Linked DNA regions of Homo sapiens: region 2 is linked to region 1. Evidence: promoter capture Hi-C in 16 types of primary human blood cells and fetal thymus (Javierre and others, 2016). All regions are on one chromosome and are shown on one strand. Each heading gives the region's core, a stretch centred on a gene start or on the middle of the fragment in contact. The rest is flanking DNA. Distances are from core to core; before and after follow the strand shown. Region 1 holds the start of CD300C (CD300c molecule). Region 2 holds the start of CD300LD (CD300 molecule like family member d).

Region 1 (7,350 bases), core at 1,837-4,336:
GTCTCCCACTTACTCTCACCTGTTCTGCTCCAATTTTCACAGACAAGGTCACCAATGATGTGCTGGACAGATGCCCTGCATCCATCATGCCCCACGGCCACACCCAGGCCTGACCAGGGTCCTGGGCCTCTCCTTGTCCCATCCCTAGGTACTGCAGAGCCAGGACACCATTTCAGATGTGAGAGCTGCCCTGCTCACCTGTGGCAAAGGTACGGGTCTCCAGGTTTCACCCCAGCCAGGGAGGGACAGGGTGACCTGGGGGAATGGGGTGATGTTTACTCTGCGAAGGGTGACCCAGAGTGACTGCGAAGCCAGGGCCCTGGGCACAGCAGTGGCTGGAGAGAGGCTGGAAGTGAGGACAGGAAGTCAGTGGGGTCCTCCCTGAACGATGGGACCCGAGTCCACTCAGCCCCAAATGGCAGCCATGCTGCGGCCCCACAAGGCCATTGGACCATCCTCTCAGCAGGAGGGAATGCCCAGGAAGAAAGATCTAGAGAGGGGATGCCCGGTGAAGCCTGGGCGGCGGCCCGTGGTGAATACAGCTGGATAAGGGCCCTTTCCTCCTCTCCCTGGCGCCCTCAGGTGGGATCTTAGCTCCTCACTCCTAGATAGGAAGGCACAAAGGGCGCAGGAGGGACACGTCGCCCCCGGGGAAATGGAGAACAAGAAGATGCTCCGAGGAACCTGGGACATTGTCAGAAGAAAACGATGGAAAAGCAACCACACTGAGGCCACTGGGTTTGTGTCTTGTGAGACAGGAGGGGGCCTTTGAGGGAAGAATGATCTTCGGCACGGGAAAGGGCCCTCAGGTCCGTGCCAGTCTCAGCTCATTTCCATCCACAGGTCCCTTTGCCTGAGGGGGCAATTTCTGGGGTTCCCTCCTGTGGTAAAAGGTGCCAGAGAATAAGGGGGACACACAGGTCAGCCTCAGGGGCAGGATGTGGTTCCCAGGAGCATGAGAACCCCACCCAGGGCTCTGGGGCTCCTTCCTGTGTCCTCCAGTGGCTGCTGCAGGAGCTCCCAGGACAGGGCTGTGAGGCTGCGGCCTCAGGACCCTCCAGACAGGGCGGCATCCATGCAGGCCCCAGGGCAGGGGCAGCCTTGAGTGAGAGGAGCCAATGATGGGGGGGTCCAATTCCCCGTGGGGAAGAGCGAGTTAGACCCAGGCGGGACAGTGGGCACCCTTCAGTATGGATCCGGCCCTTGTCAATACAGGGAGGTAGCAAGGACCCCAGAGTCAGGGGTGGCCTCACAGACCCCACCCAGGAAAGTTTCAGGCCTGAGGCCGTGAGGGAGGGCCCACAGCGGGGGGTCTCCAGCCACAGGGCCAGGGTGCTTTTGTGGGCGCCCACCCTCCCAACACACACATGCAGGTGCACACACACACAAACCACACCACAACTCCTATGCAGGCACGCATACACAAAGACGCACTCACACTCATCCACACACAGCGGCACACAGTGTCCTGACTCACCAACCCCCAGGCTCACACCCTCCTGTTCCACTTCTTTCTTCAGGGACAGAATGACCAGCCCTAGGCTCAGGCAGGCCTGGTGCTGAGAAAAGGAGGGGCTCACCCGGGAACACGGACACCTCAACCTCGACAATGGGATCATGAAAGTCTCGGAGCCACGGTGTATCCACCCCACACCAGTAGGTGCCTGCGTCCTCCTCTGTGAGATTCTCCAGGGTCACTGTGAAGCTGAGGTTTGCAGGACTGTCCCTGATGGACACTCGGCCATTCCTTTTCCCTGCTGACCCTTTGGTCTCCACAATCTTGTCACATCGGAGAATCTGTGGTGGTCTGCACCAGAATTTGTTGAGGGTCCTGTGTTCCTTCTCATAGCGACACTGCACACTCAGGGATCCCCCCACGGGGCCCGCCACGGTCATGGGGTGGCTCAGAGGAAAATAGCCTGAAAAATACAAGCCAAAATCCTGTCTCCTTACCAGAGGGGCCTGGTCAGGGGTGCCGCAGTGTCAGCCCCTCATGGACCCTGGGCGTGTGGAGAAGGCAATGGCAGGCAGGCAGCCTTTGTCCACCCAGGAACAGGGACTGAGGGTGGGAGGCTCCCTCTGTGCAGAGGTGGGAAGGGCATGGGAAGTTTCCATGGAGACTGGAAAGGCAAGGCTAGGGAAACACTGGGTGTGTGCGGGCCTGTGTGTGCATGTGAGTGTGACTCTGTGTGTGTGACTGTGTGAGTGTGACTGTCTGTGTGAGTGTGACTGTGTGTGACTGTGTGTGCATGTGTGACTGTGTGTGCATGTGAGTGTGACTGTGTGTGCATGTGTGACTGTGTGCATGTGTGTGTGAGACTGTGTGAGTGTGACTGTGTGTGCATGTGTGTGAGACTGTGTGAGTGTGACCGTGTGTGCGTGTGAGTGTGACTGTGTGTGTGATCGTCCCAGATAAAATTTGTGATTGGATAACTTTGGCAATGACAGTCACAGCATCACCTCCCACCAGGGCTTCCTGTCTCGGGCACAGAGGAATAGGCCTCCCCCGTGCTGTGCCCTGCCGCCTGCTGTCCCCTGGTGAGGCAGCTGCTGACCGCTCCTGGGTGCTCCTTTGCCCTCCTCCCCTCTCCCTGCCCCACTCCCCTCTATGACCGCTACTCCAGCGCCTGCACCCCTCCCTGCCCTCTCCCACTCAGGACAGAGCTCCCCAAGTCCAGGGTCGGCCCACTCACCTGGGACAAGCAGGAGGAGCAGAGCTGAAGACCGCCACGAGGCCCAGGCCCTGGCAGTCATTCCTGTAACACGAATGTCACCTGCCACTGTGCAAGACCCCAGGAGGGGACAAAATGTAATCTCCTCCCAGCAGATCTGAGCTTCGCTTCTGCTTTTCTTCTGCTCTCTGCTTCCTTGTCCAGCCCTGTCTCAGGTCTGAGGCTGGAGAGGGTCAGGGTACAGGAAGCTCAGGGAGAGAGCCGCCTGGGCTGAGGCCGGTGCTGACAGCTCTGGGATGGTGCTAGTGGCTCCTCTCAACCCTGACGTCTGGCAAAGTCCAGGGTCCCTTGGGTGGCGATGCAGCCACTTCCCCACAGCCCACAGCTTCTGGCTTCAGTGTGTTACTCACACTGCAGAAGGCAGAGCCAAGCTGGGCCATTTCCTACCACATGGGCTGCTCCACCCTCTGTGACATGTCACTTCCTGGTCAGGATGGACAATCTTGTGGTTGGAGGCTAAATCTGCCACCTTCTTTAGCCTTGGAGGTGACCAGAGAGAGGTTGTGTCCCTTAATCTTCAGCTAGGTCCCCGCAGAGACCTCTGCCCCTAAGACCCCCAGCTCTTCTTCTGGCCTCAGAAGTTAGCGCTATGAACCCAGACACCATCTGCATGTCCCTTTTTGGTGCTGAGTCCCCAACCAGGTTAAAATCCCACAGGCTTGGGGAGTTTTCCTCTTGTGCCCCTGCCCCCAGACCTACACACACAGCGGCATCACCCACCCGAGACCCTCCTTTTCCATCTTGTCTTCTTGCCAAAATCCATGCCCCAGTGGGAATCAGGGCAGAGAACTGAGAATAGAGAGAGAGTTCAGACATGTGAAGATGCTGAAGTGGGACTTTGTGGAGGATGTGAGGCTGCGACTGAGCCAGCACACACCCCAGGGCACACGGAGGGGTGTTTGGTGACTGAGAGGACAGTTTGTCATGAGCAGCGGCTGCTGGTGTCTATCCTGGGTCCACTGTGATGGCCAGGGGCCTCCGCAGGGAGCAGACATGGCAGACAGGCCTTCCCAGGAGGCGGGAACCCAGGTCTATCCACACTCGGCATGGCTGGTTCTCCTGACGTGATGGGCTCAGGGTGTCTTTACCCTGGAAAGGGCAAGGAGGCTAGTCAGACACAGGATTTACCTCCTGTCTGTCCTGGAGGGCATCACCCCTTCTCCACCTTCTCATGCCTTAAGCATATTCCTTGACTCTCCCAACCCTCCTACAGATTTCTGTTCCTTTCTTCCTATCAGAGTCAATAGCACCAGTATGTGCACACAGCCATGAGGTTGAGTGGAGAGTGATGGGAGTCTGGGCAAACCTGGCACCATGAAGGGGTCTCTGCACCCTCGACCTGCCCTGTCCTCCCTCCATTTACACTCTCAGGGACACAGCATGCACTGGGGTCATTGGTGTTGATGCCCCCAGACTCACATCATGGGACTATCTCTAGCCCAGTGCAATCCCAGGGCCTCCAATTAGCCCAGTGCTCAGGTCTGGCCTGGGCCTGGCTTTGAAGTATCCCGGCTCTTTCATGGGCTGACCTGGTCTCCCCTTCTGCTCATACCCACCCCTTTCATTCTCCACAGAATCAGCAATGTGATCCCTGACACACACACATGGCCCTGGGGAGGCGCTGCTGAACTCCCAATGGCTCCTGCTGTCACAGGATGGCACCCACCTGACCTGGCCTCTGCACACAGGTCCTGGCAGGCCCCAGCACCTGGTAGGTGTCTCCAGCCTCCTGGATCCAGGTTCACACTGGTGCTGCCACCCTCCCCACTCGGGCCTTTGTCCAGACCCTCAACCTCCCACTCCTCTGCCTGGCTCCAGCCGACAGGGTTGCCTGCGTGTTCCTTGACCTTCCCGGGTTATGGTGGCTCGCTTTTTAGGGGTCCTCATGACCCATTTCACACTTCCCTCTCGTCTTCCTCAGTCTTTCTGTTGGCGAGTCAATGTCTGCTCCCATCTAGGGTGGCCGCCCCTTGAGAGCAGGTGCAGCCTCTTGTCTCATTCACAGCTGTGCCCGTTATCATTCCAGAGTCTGCCAAGTGCAGTTTAACAAACTGGCTGTTGAAAGGATGAATGGGTGAATGGATACATGACATCCTGATGTCCCACTGCCTCAGAGGACTTAGTCATCCAAAGTTGGTGCACCATTTCCTGCCCAGGCTGGGGAGGAGACAGGAAATGCTGTCTGGAGGCCCTGAAGCCACCTGACCCAGGGAGGCATCTGCCCCTGGCAGGACATGTGCACCTGCTCCTCTCTCTGCCTCAGGGCTCCTCCTCCAGGGATCCTGGCGCTCACCCCCTCCTTTCTCCTGATCCCTGCTTGCTCAGCGCCTATTAGAGGGGCTTCACCACAGTCCCCCTCAGCTCCTGCACAGCAGTCACCCCACTTCTCTTATTTCATTCCGTGACTCTTTTCATCTCTGACTTTTATATTTCTTCTGGAATTTATGCACGTATTTTTGCATCTGTTTATCATTTCTATCCCCCGCCTGGAATATGAGCTCAATGAAAACAGAGCTCCTTGCCTGGGTGTTCACGGCTGGACTCCAATGCCAGGTCAGTGTCTGATACACCAGAAGCTCCCATAAGTATCTGCTGAATGTAAAAATAGGTGAGGACCCCCAGGCGTGTCCCTCCTTGACCTGGTGGACTCATGGGGATCATCTGCCTCACAGGGGTCTTGGGTGTGGCATCCCTGGAACCGAAACGATGGTCAGCTGATAACGTCTTCCTTTGTCTGGATAAGCAGACATGGTCTGCACTAGTAAGCAAAAGACTCAGTTAACTACCACATTAAGAAGTCACGGCCCTCAACCAATTTCCATATTTGAGTCAGTTAAAAGCCACAGCCCTGGAATGAAGGGGAGGTCAGGTCCCCTTGAGGAAGGAGGAAGGAAAGGCCTGGCTACCATGCCACAACTCACACTGATAATCTTCTACCAGCCCTCCCGCAGGGACCAGAAGACACTGGCCAGGATGTGTCTACATAAGGAACGGAATTGTCAGGTTTTGGGGGGAATCCTGGATCCTCTTCTGCAGGGACCCCAGTCCTGAGAGGCCCAGCCTGGGGCTTAGTCCACTATTCTGAGCAAAGGCCTGTGGAGATCAGGGAACAATGGAGTTTTCACCCAGGTCTGACTTAGTGGGCATGATAGGTCCAGAATCTATGTATTGTCATTTCTTAAAGTTCGAAAGCATCATTGAATTGACACACTCAGCAAATGGAAGCAGCCACATATTCTGCACTCCTGGACCCGGGGAGTGTGGGCCATTATGGTGGCAAAGGTGCAGGGGAGTCCTGGACCTGCTCCTCCCTGTGAAAACGTTGAAGGAAGCAATGCCAAGCTCCTGGAGAAATGGAAAGGTGCAGAGAGGGCATCAGGCACTTAGAGGTGTTGGTGACAGCTCGAGGTTCAGCTGGCCAGGGCGTGCACATGAGACATGGAGTCACAGCTCAGGGCGTCTGTGTCCATCAGGTTCACGTGTGATTCATGGATCAGGCACAGGGAAAAGGCTGAAGGAGGCTCACAGAGAATTCCAGGAGATGTGGAGAGAGCAGCCCGGGAGGGAGTGGTCAGGAGGTCATTCCAGTCCCGCAAAGGGGTTCTGTCGCAGTGCAGGGCCTTGATGGACAGTAGATGCTACTGGTTCTCACCCTCTGGCCAACTCTGCCTGCTTCCAGAGCTTCTCTGAGGTCCGTTCACCCAGACGACGGCACCCAGCATGCTCAGGAGCAGGGGCAGCTCCAGGACCAGGAGCAGGACGTAGGGGCTGCTGAACAGGGAGCTGTGGGGACACGGTGATGGCAGTGAGTCATCTCCCCAGGGGAAGCCCAGGTGCCCTCCACCTTCTGCCTGTCTGTGAACCCAGGTCCTGTGGCCACACAAATCCCTGTGAGGACAAACTCTGTATATGACAACTCCTCTAAAGAGATCATTAGACCCTGACCTTCAGCCTGAGAGTCCCTGGAGTCTCAGGACTGCCTATAAGGAAGCACGTGGCCGTGAAAATGGTGCATGAGGACAGGGAGGGATCCAGGTGAGAACCACACCCACAAGATCTCTACATCCCGGGGTTATTCACTGGCGCATGGAATCAGTCATGTAGTTTGATGCCTGTATGGCCATCATTTCCCGAGAAGGTGAGGACTATTCATGTTATTCACAAGTAACTGGTACCTGCCCTCTGGTTGCAAATATCAGCCTGTAAAATTCATGGTTGTTGAAGGAATGGAAGGAATGAATGAATGGCCCAGCTCAGCTCTCAGCTCCTCAGAGGACTGGGCTCATCAAACAGGATGAGACTCGGGCCAGGGCTGCAAGGGAGGCCAGGGGAGAGGGCCGGGGTCACCGGGCACCAAAACATCTGCCCCCTGCCCTGGCCTGGCCGGGTCCCAGGACTCCCTTGCAGGACATTTGCCTCACTCCTCCCTCTGCCTGGACCCCTCTTCCCCCAGACCCCAGAGCGCCCTGCTCCCAAATCCTGCAGGTCTCCACGCTCATGTCCTCTAATCCACAAACCCTCTTCTGATCATTGTCAGTGAAATAGCGACTCCAACACCCACACACATGCTCCCCAAACCCAAGGCACAAATATCTCTTCCCAGCAGTCATCAAACTTC
Region 2 (7,350 bases), core at 2,891-5,390, 45 kb after region 1:
TTCTTTTAGTAGCTATAAAATCTGTTGTAATGTTACCTCTCTCATTTCTGATGTTAGTAATTTATATCTTTTTCCTGATCAGTCTAGGTAGAGGTTTAACAGTGTTTCTGATGTTTTCACAGAAAACATATCTCATTTCATTGATTTTTCCCTATTACTTTTGTTTTCGATTTCATTAATTTTTCATTGTGGTCTTAATATTATCTGTGTTCTGATGTTTGCTTTGAGTTTACTTTGATCTTTTTTTTCCCTAGTATCTTGAGCTAAGGCCATTGACTTGAGGCCCTTCTCCTTTTCTGATACAGGGACTTAGTGCTATAAAGAAGTTCCAAGAAGGCACTGGCAGGGATTGGGGTCTCTGGTTACCAGGGAAGGGGGTCCCTTTGGCCTGTGGGCTGAAACTGGAACCATCACCCTGTCATCTGTGGGCAACAGACTCAGGCACTGAGCTGTGCAGAGAAAAAAAAAATGTGCCTAGAAAGACTTAATCCCATCCTGGAGGGAGCCCTGGGAGCCATGGGGTCATTAAGAGATCCCCTCAATCCCAAGCGGTCCTTCAGGGTCCTATGAGACCTGTCTTAGTCTACTTTTTCTTGCTTATAACAGAATATCTGGAATTGAGTCATTTATAAGGAAAAGGAATTTGTTTCTTACAGTTATGGAGGCTAAGATGTCCGAGGTTGAGGAGCCACATCTTGTGAGGGCCTTCTTGATGGCAGGGACTCTCTGCAGAGTCCCAAGGTGGCTCCAGGCACCTCGTGGTGGCGGAACTGAGTATGCTAAGTCAGGTCTGTCTGCCTTTTCTTATAAAGCAGTTCCATTCCCATGATAACCCATTCATCCTTTAATCCACGAATGGATTAATTCATTCATGGGAACTCTGCCCCCATGACCCAGTCACCTTTTAAAGGCCTTGTCTCTCAATACTGCCACATTGGGGATTAAGTTTCAACACGAGTTTTGGAGGGACAAATATTCAAACCATAGCAAGACCTCAGGACTCAGACACCCTCTGTCACAGGTCACTCTGAGTGACAGTTAATTTACTCAAGTGGGACCTCAGGGACCAGGACAGAGCAGGACCTGAGAGACACACACGTATATACACTCCCTCTTACCTGGGTTAATGGTCACTTGAACTTTGACCCCAAGATCAATTCCAGGTCTCTCAGTCCCACACCAATAACTGTCAGCATCATCTCTTTTGAGATTCTCCATGGTCACGGTGAACACGTGGTTTTTCTGATTGTCCCTGATGGAAACTCGATTCTTCTTTACCTCCTGCTCTGATCCATTTGTTTTAACAAGGATGTTACAGTAATTCCAATCAGCTCCTTGACACCGCCACTTCAAGTAGGTCTCCCAGCCTGAGCCATAAGCACACTGCACAGTCAATGAGCCCTGCTCCGAGCCATTCACTGTTGTTGGACCAGTGATTTTAGCGGCAATGGAGTAACCTGGAAAACGCAAATTCATGTGTCGTCACCTCCCACCCCAAGGGCAGGGCCACAGCCTCGTGCATTGGGAGTAGCAGCCAAATCCAACTGCCTTATAACAGTCAAGGAAGCAATACATTTTCCTCAAGACAAATCTTTGTCCTTCAAAATTCCACTGGGTCAAAGTCACCAGGAAAATCACTGAAGAGCACAACTGCAGATCCCCAAAGAAACACAAATGTTGGCATTGAGCAATAATAGCTTCCTGCAGTTCACCCCTCTCTCTTTCCCTATGGCCAGCAAATCTTTATATTCCAAGGAATGCTCTTTGGCAACCATCTTTGTGTTATACTGGTCTGATGGGGAGGAAATGGCAGAAGGCCCTTTTCCAGAAGAATGATTGCTGCCTTGATGCTTGGCTGTTCCTAGTGGTTCTAATGGTTTCTGGTGGCTCTGCTGTAGTTAATCACCCTGAATGAATCCCTTTGAAATCAACCAAATAGTGATGCCAACTGGTCTCTATCTGCTATGGGATCCACATCACACAGATCTCCATTTCGCCATACAGTGTTATAAATTCCACTTCCAAAATTCCTAGGAAAAGCTAACTTTTAAGATAAACACAAGTAAAGGTTAGGTATAAACAGAGCAGCACCCATTCAACACCCTTCTGCATCTTATAAGTTCTTCTCTAAACATAATGGACATGATTCAAGTCAGTTAAAGGGTGAGGAACGGGCATACCTAATTAGCTCCACTTTTCAAACAATTTGATCCAGGACAAGACTAGTCTCCATGAACTTGTCAGCCTAATCTTTCACTTGAAAACAATTCAAAACAGTGGAAATACCTTAAGTGAGAGCTTTGCCAGAAATTCTTTAAATTCAACTGACCTAAAGGGAGACCCATCTAAAGAAACGATTGATTTTGATGATTTATGCACTGGCAATAAACCATAGCTGTGATTAGTGCAGCATAAACTTGAGATGGAACTAGAAGCACATTGGAGCACTTGAAGAAGCCCTGGGGGCAATTCCTGTGGCAGGAGAGAGGTTGTCTCTGAAACGCCAAGAGACACCCAAGGTCGTGGGTAAGAGCTCAGGCTGTGCCAGAGTGCTTGGGTTTGAATCCTGGCTCTACCACTGATAAGTTTTGTGAACCTGGGCAAATTAACCTCTCTGTGTGATACGGTTTGTCTGTGTCCTCACCCAAATCTCATCTTGAATTGTAGCTCCCATAATTTCCACATGTTGTGGGGGGCACCAGTTGGGAGTTAATTGAATCATGGGGCGGTTTCCCCCACATTGTTCTCGTGGTAGTGAATAAGTCTCATGAGAGCTGATGGTTTTATAATGGGAAACCTCTTTCACTTGGCTCTCATTCTCTCTCTTGCCTGCTGCCATATAATACATGCCTTTCACCTTCCACCATGATTGTGAGGCCTCCCCAGTCATGTGGAACTGTGAGTCCATTAAACCTCTTTTTCTGTGTAATTTACTCAGTCTCGGGTATGTCCTTATCAGCAGCGTGAAAATGGACTAATACACTGTGACTTCGTTTTCTATAAGTGGGAATAGTAATGGCATCTACCTCTATGTTACTATATTATGTTTGTTATTATTATTATTATTATTATTACCCCTGGATGAATGAAAACTTTAGACTTCATTGGAATGTCTTGAAAAACCAGGGTCACCATGGTGGGAGCGGAAGACAATTTCACCATAAACAGGCAGAGCTCCACAACCCAAGGAATTCCTGGAACAGAAATTGGACTCCATGCCCAAATCTGCTTTCTATGGCATCTGAAGGGAACTAAGAAACTACACACGACCTCCTGGGGAAAGATGGGTATAGGGGCTTCATTTGTTCACTCTGAAAAAAGTTCTACATCAGAATGGAAAGACAACAATTAAGGTAAATATTTAAAGAAAAACTACATCTGGAAGTTATTTATAAGAAATAAGAGCTGGGTGTGGTAGCTCACACTTGTAATATAACAACTTTGGGAGGCTGAGGCAGGAGAATCGCGTGAGCCCTGGAGCTTGAGAGCAGCCCTGGCAACATAGCGAGACTAAATAAATAAATAAATATTAGCTGGGTGTCGCACCACATGCCTGTAGTCCCAGCTACTCACTCAGGAGGCTGAGGTGGGAGGATGGCTTGAGCCTGGGAGGTCAAGGCTGCAGTGAACCCTGATCCCAGCACTGTACTCCAGATTGGGTGACAGAGCACACCCTGTCTCAGAAGGAAGGAAAGGAAGGAGAATATATCTGAAAATTGTTTACAGAATATAAATTTGAAGCCAGGCATGGTGGCTCACACCTATAATCCCAGCACTTTGGGAGGCCAAAGTGGGAGGATCACTTGAGCCCAGGAGTTTGAGACCAGCCTGGGCATGAAAGTGAGTCCTCATCTCTACAAAAAAAAAAAAAATAAAAATAATAATAATAATAATAATAATCTATTTTAAAAGAAAATAAATTTGAGATTGGAAGGAAAAATTTTCTTACAAAGCTTGATCTGAGTATAGATAATATGAGAAGCACATAGATTTGTTACATTTTAACAGAAATGAAAACACTACGTATCAAAATTTGTTGACATGACAGCCAAAGCTGTACTCAAATATAAATCCTTGGGAAAAAGGTTTGATGCTTCCTCAAAAAGTTAAACATAGAATTAACATAGGATTCAGCCATTTTACCCCTAGATATATACCCAAGAGAACTGAAAACATATCTCCATACAAAACTGTGCTATGAAAGTTCATAACATTATTACTAACAATTTTTAAAAGGTAGAAACAACCCTAAGGTTCATTGACAAATGACTGGAGAAACCAAATGTGGTATATCCACTGTGAAATACTATGCAGCCATGAAAAAGAATGAAGCTTTGATTTGTGCTACAACACAAAGTAACCTTGAAACATCATGCTAAGTGAAAGAAGCACTCCAGCCTGGGTGACAGAGCGAGACACCAGCTCAAAAAAAAAAAAAAAAAAAAGTTCTTCAAGAATGGACTCACTCATTAGTTCCTTCCTTCATTGATATCTGTTCATTCATCTGTTTATATGGAACAGTCAGGGTTGAGAACCACTGTTCCAACAAGAAGCTATACTTGTTTTGTTTTGTGTGTGTTTGTTTCTGCAGCATCTAACACAGAACCTGTCAGATAACAAAAACTTGATTGCTATTTAATGAATATGGGCATGGATGGATGAATTGGCGCTGTCATTTTCCCTGACATGTCTCCTTCCTGAGAACAGAGCGTCTCTGTCTCCAAGCCAGCCGCTGTCATTCCAGTGCCTTAAAGCTCCAGCCACACTCACCTGGGAGGATGAGAAGCAGCAGAGATGGGGACAGCCACATGGTCCTGTCTCCTCTCCTCTCCTTGGTGATCACAGGTGTCTGGTGCCCTTCAGGGACTTGAATCCAAGCTCGGAAGTCAACACCGCAAACCTACTCGAATCTCCTTCAAGTCTCTTGCTCACTTCCTGTTACATCTGTAGCTACTTCTCTTTTTACATATTAGGAGAAAAGAGGTGTCATTCTTTGAAAAGACTAAGGTACAGTGTATGTTGCAAGGTGTGCCCAAACTTTTGTGCATGTGGAAAAGAAAATGTGTCCGGGACTGGTCAGGTTTGCACGGGAGTGCACGTAGGAGCCAAGGAGCAGGAGGAGCCAGGAGGAACCCAAGCATTGAGGAGCTGCGGGATCTACTGCCTGGAGGAGAGGACGGACAAGGCCAGCCATGAGGAGTGCAGGGAGAGGAGCACTTTGGGAAGACCACAGTGCACAGGACTCACACCCAGCCTTGCTGGAGAAAGCCCATGCCCCAGGCTTCTTCCAGGCAGCCCCACTGTAAGACATCTCATTGCCTCTTCCTGCCCTGGGCTGTCTGACCCACTGCCCCTTCCCCCAGGAACACTTCCACTGGGATCATGAGTCACTCTGAAGCCACTCTGAAATCACTCTGAAGCCAAAGCTGGGCTCAGTGGGGAAGGTCAGGAATGGAGAAATTGCCTTTTCTCGTTAGCCTCCTCTTGCCCTGATTTCATCCTCCCTATCCCTGCACACTTTCCCCTGGCTGCTGTTGTAATCTACTTGTTCTGCTGACGCCCGAACTGACTTCTTTCCCGGTCTCTCCCCACTTTCTTTAGATGGTCCCTTCCCTCTTTCTCTCCCTTTCCCTCCTGAATCGATTCATTTTTTCTCTCCTGTTTTATATTTTCCATATCTGTGGGCTTTGTTCTACATTTGGGGAGCTTTTTATATTGTTTATTTCATGCTTGTACTTTCCCTTCCAATCCTTGGATCAAATATTGATTTTAGAGACTGTATTTTTATTTCGAAAAGTTTTTTTGGTTCTTTGATTACTGATGTTTTCAAACTCTCTTCTGTTCCTTGAACTATATCCCTCCACTCAGTGGTCACATCTTTGTTTTGTTGTCTGCTTCTTCTATATTATGAGCCTTCCTCAAGTGTCTGCTGATTCTTGGTTATCCAATCATAGTTGAGAACAAGATAAAGTGTAGCTAACTGAGACCTCAGAGTATGTAGGAGTAAATAGTATATAAAATAGCTCTGGTGGCTCATGCCTGTAATCCAGCACTTTGGGAGGCCAAGGCGGACAGACCACCTGAGGTCAGGAGTTCGAAACCAGCCTGGCCAACATGGAGAAACCCCATCTCTACTAAAAATACAAAAATTAGCCAGGTGGTGGCACACGCCTGTAATCCCAGCTACTCAGGAGGCTGAGGCAGGAGAATCGCCTGAACCTGGGAGGTGGAGATTGCAGTGAGCCCAGATTGCACCACTGCTCTCTAGCCTGGGCAAAAAAACTAGTTCCAAAAAAGACACTTGTACACGCATGTTTATAGCAGCACAATTTGCGATTGAAAACATAGGGAACCAGCCTAAATGCCCATCAAGCAATGAGTGGATAAAGACAATGCGGTGTACATATACACCATGGAATACTATTCAGCCACAAAAAGGAACAAAATAATGGCATTCACAGCAACCTGGATGGAGTTGGAGATCATTATTCTAAGTGAAATAACTCAGGAATGGAGAACCAAATATTGTACATCCTCACTTATAAGTGGGAGCTGCGCTATGAAGATACAAAGGCACAAGAATGATACAATGGATTTTGGGGACTTAGGGGAAAGGATGCAGGGGATGAGGGATAAAAAACCATACATTGGGTACAGTGTACACTGCTCCAGTGAAGGGTGCACCAAAATCTCAGAAGTCACTGCTAAAGACCTTATCCTTGTAACCAAAAGCCATCTGCTCCCCAAAAACTATTGAAATAAAATAAAATATAAAAAGAAAGAGAAAGAAAAGAAAATAGTTCCAATTTATCATGCCAAATTGTTTGAACCCTTGATTCTTTCTTGACTTACAAGCTACACTTTAAGGGGCGTGGGCAGAGAGCGGTCTTCTAAACTCTAGACTGAAGAGGATTGAAGTTGAGCTCCAGCATTCTCACTGCCATGGCTTCCCAGATATTACATTAAAATAAAGAATTCCTGCTCTTTTGCCTGGGGGTCAGTGCCTGCCTCCAGGCATTTGGGGTATATGTAAAGATGTACATGTTTGGCCGGGCACAGTGGCTCACATCTATAATCCCAGCACTTTGGGGGGTCGAGGCGCGTGGATCACCTGAGGTCAGGAGTTCAAGACCAGCCTGGCCAACATAGTGAAACCCCGTCTCTACCAAAAAATACAAAAATTAGCCCAGCATGGCAGCGCACGCCTGTAATTCCAGCTACTTGGGAGGCTGAGGCAGGAGAATCACTTGAACCTGGGAGGCGGATGTTGCAGTGAGCCGAGATCACACCATTGCACTTCAGCCGGGGTGACAGAGTGAGACTCCATCTCAAAAACAAAACAAAACAAAA

What was found. The method cuts DNA at HindIII sites, captures the fragments that hold promoters and counts their contacts. A CHiCAGO score of 5 or more calls a contact.
Region 2: a contact is called between a fragment that was not itself captured here and the fragment with the promoter of CD300C in region 1, in 1 of 17 cell types (monocytes). The highest score is 6.3, in monocytes.

What each region holds. Positions count from the first base shown.
Region 1 is chr17:74,543,029-74,550,378 of GRCh38, forward strand. It overlaps CD300C (CD300c molecule), which reads right to left and starts at 3,087. Exons shown (of 4, transcript NM_006678.5): 1 at 2,694-3,087; 2 at 1,581-1,919. The coding sequence starts at 2,754. It also overlaps a transcript of LOC107985074 not described here. The HindIII fragment of the contact is 25,491 bases long and covers 1-7,350 here.
Region 2 is chr17:74,587,393-74,594,742 of GRCh38, forward strand. It overlaps CD300LD (CD300 molecule like family member d), which reads right to left and starts at 4,891. Exons shown (of 4, transcript NM_001115152.2): 1 at 4,771-4,891; 2 at 1,119-1,457. The coding sequence starts at 4,810. It overlaps CD300LD-AS1 (CD300LD antisense RNA 1), which reads left to right. Exons shown (of 3, transcript NR_171003.1): 2 at 3,127-3,353; 3 at 4,592-6,817. RefSeq lists an enhancer at 4,795-4,924. The HindIII fragment of the contact is 379 bases long and covers 3,952-4,330 here.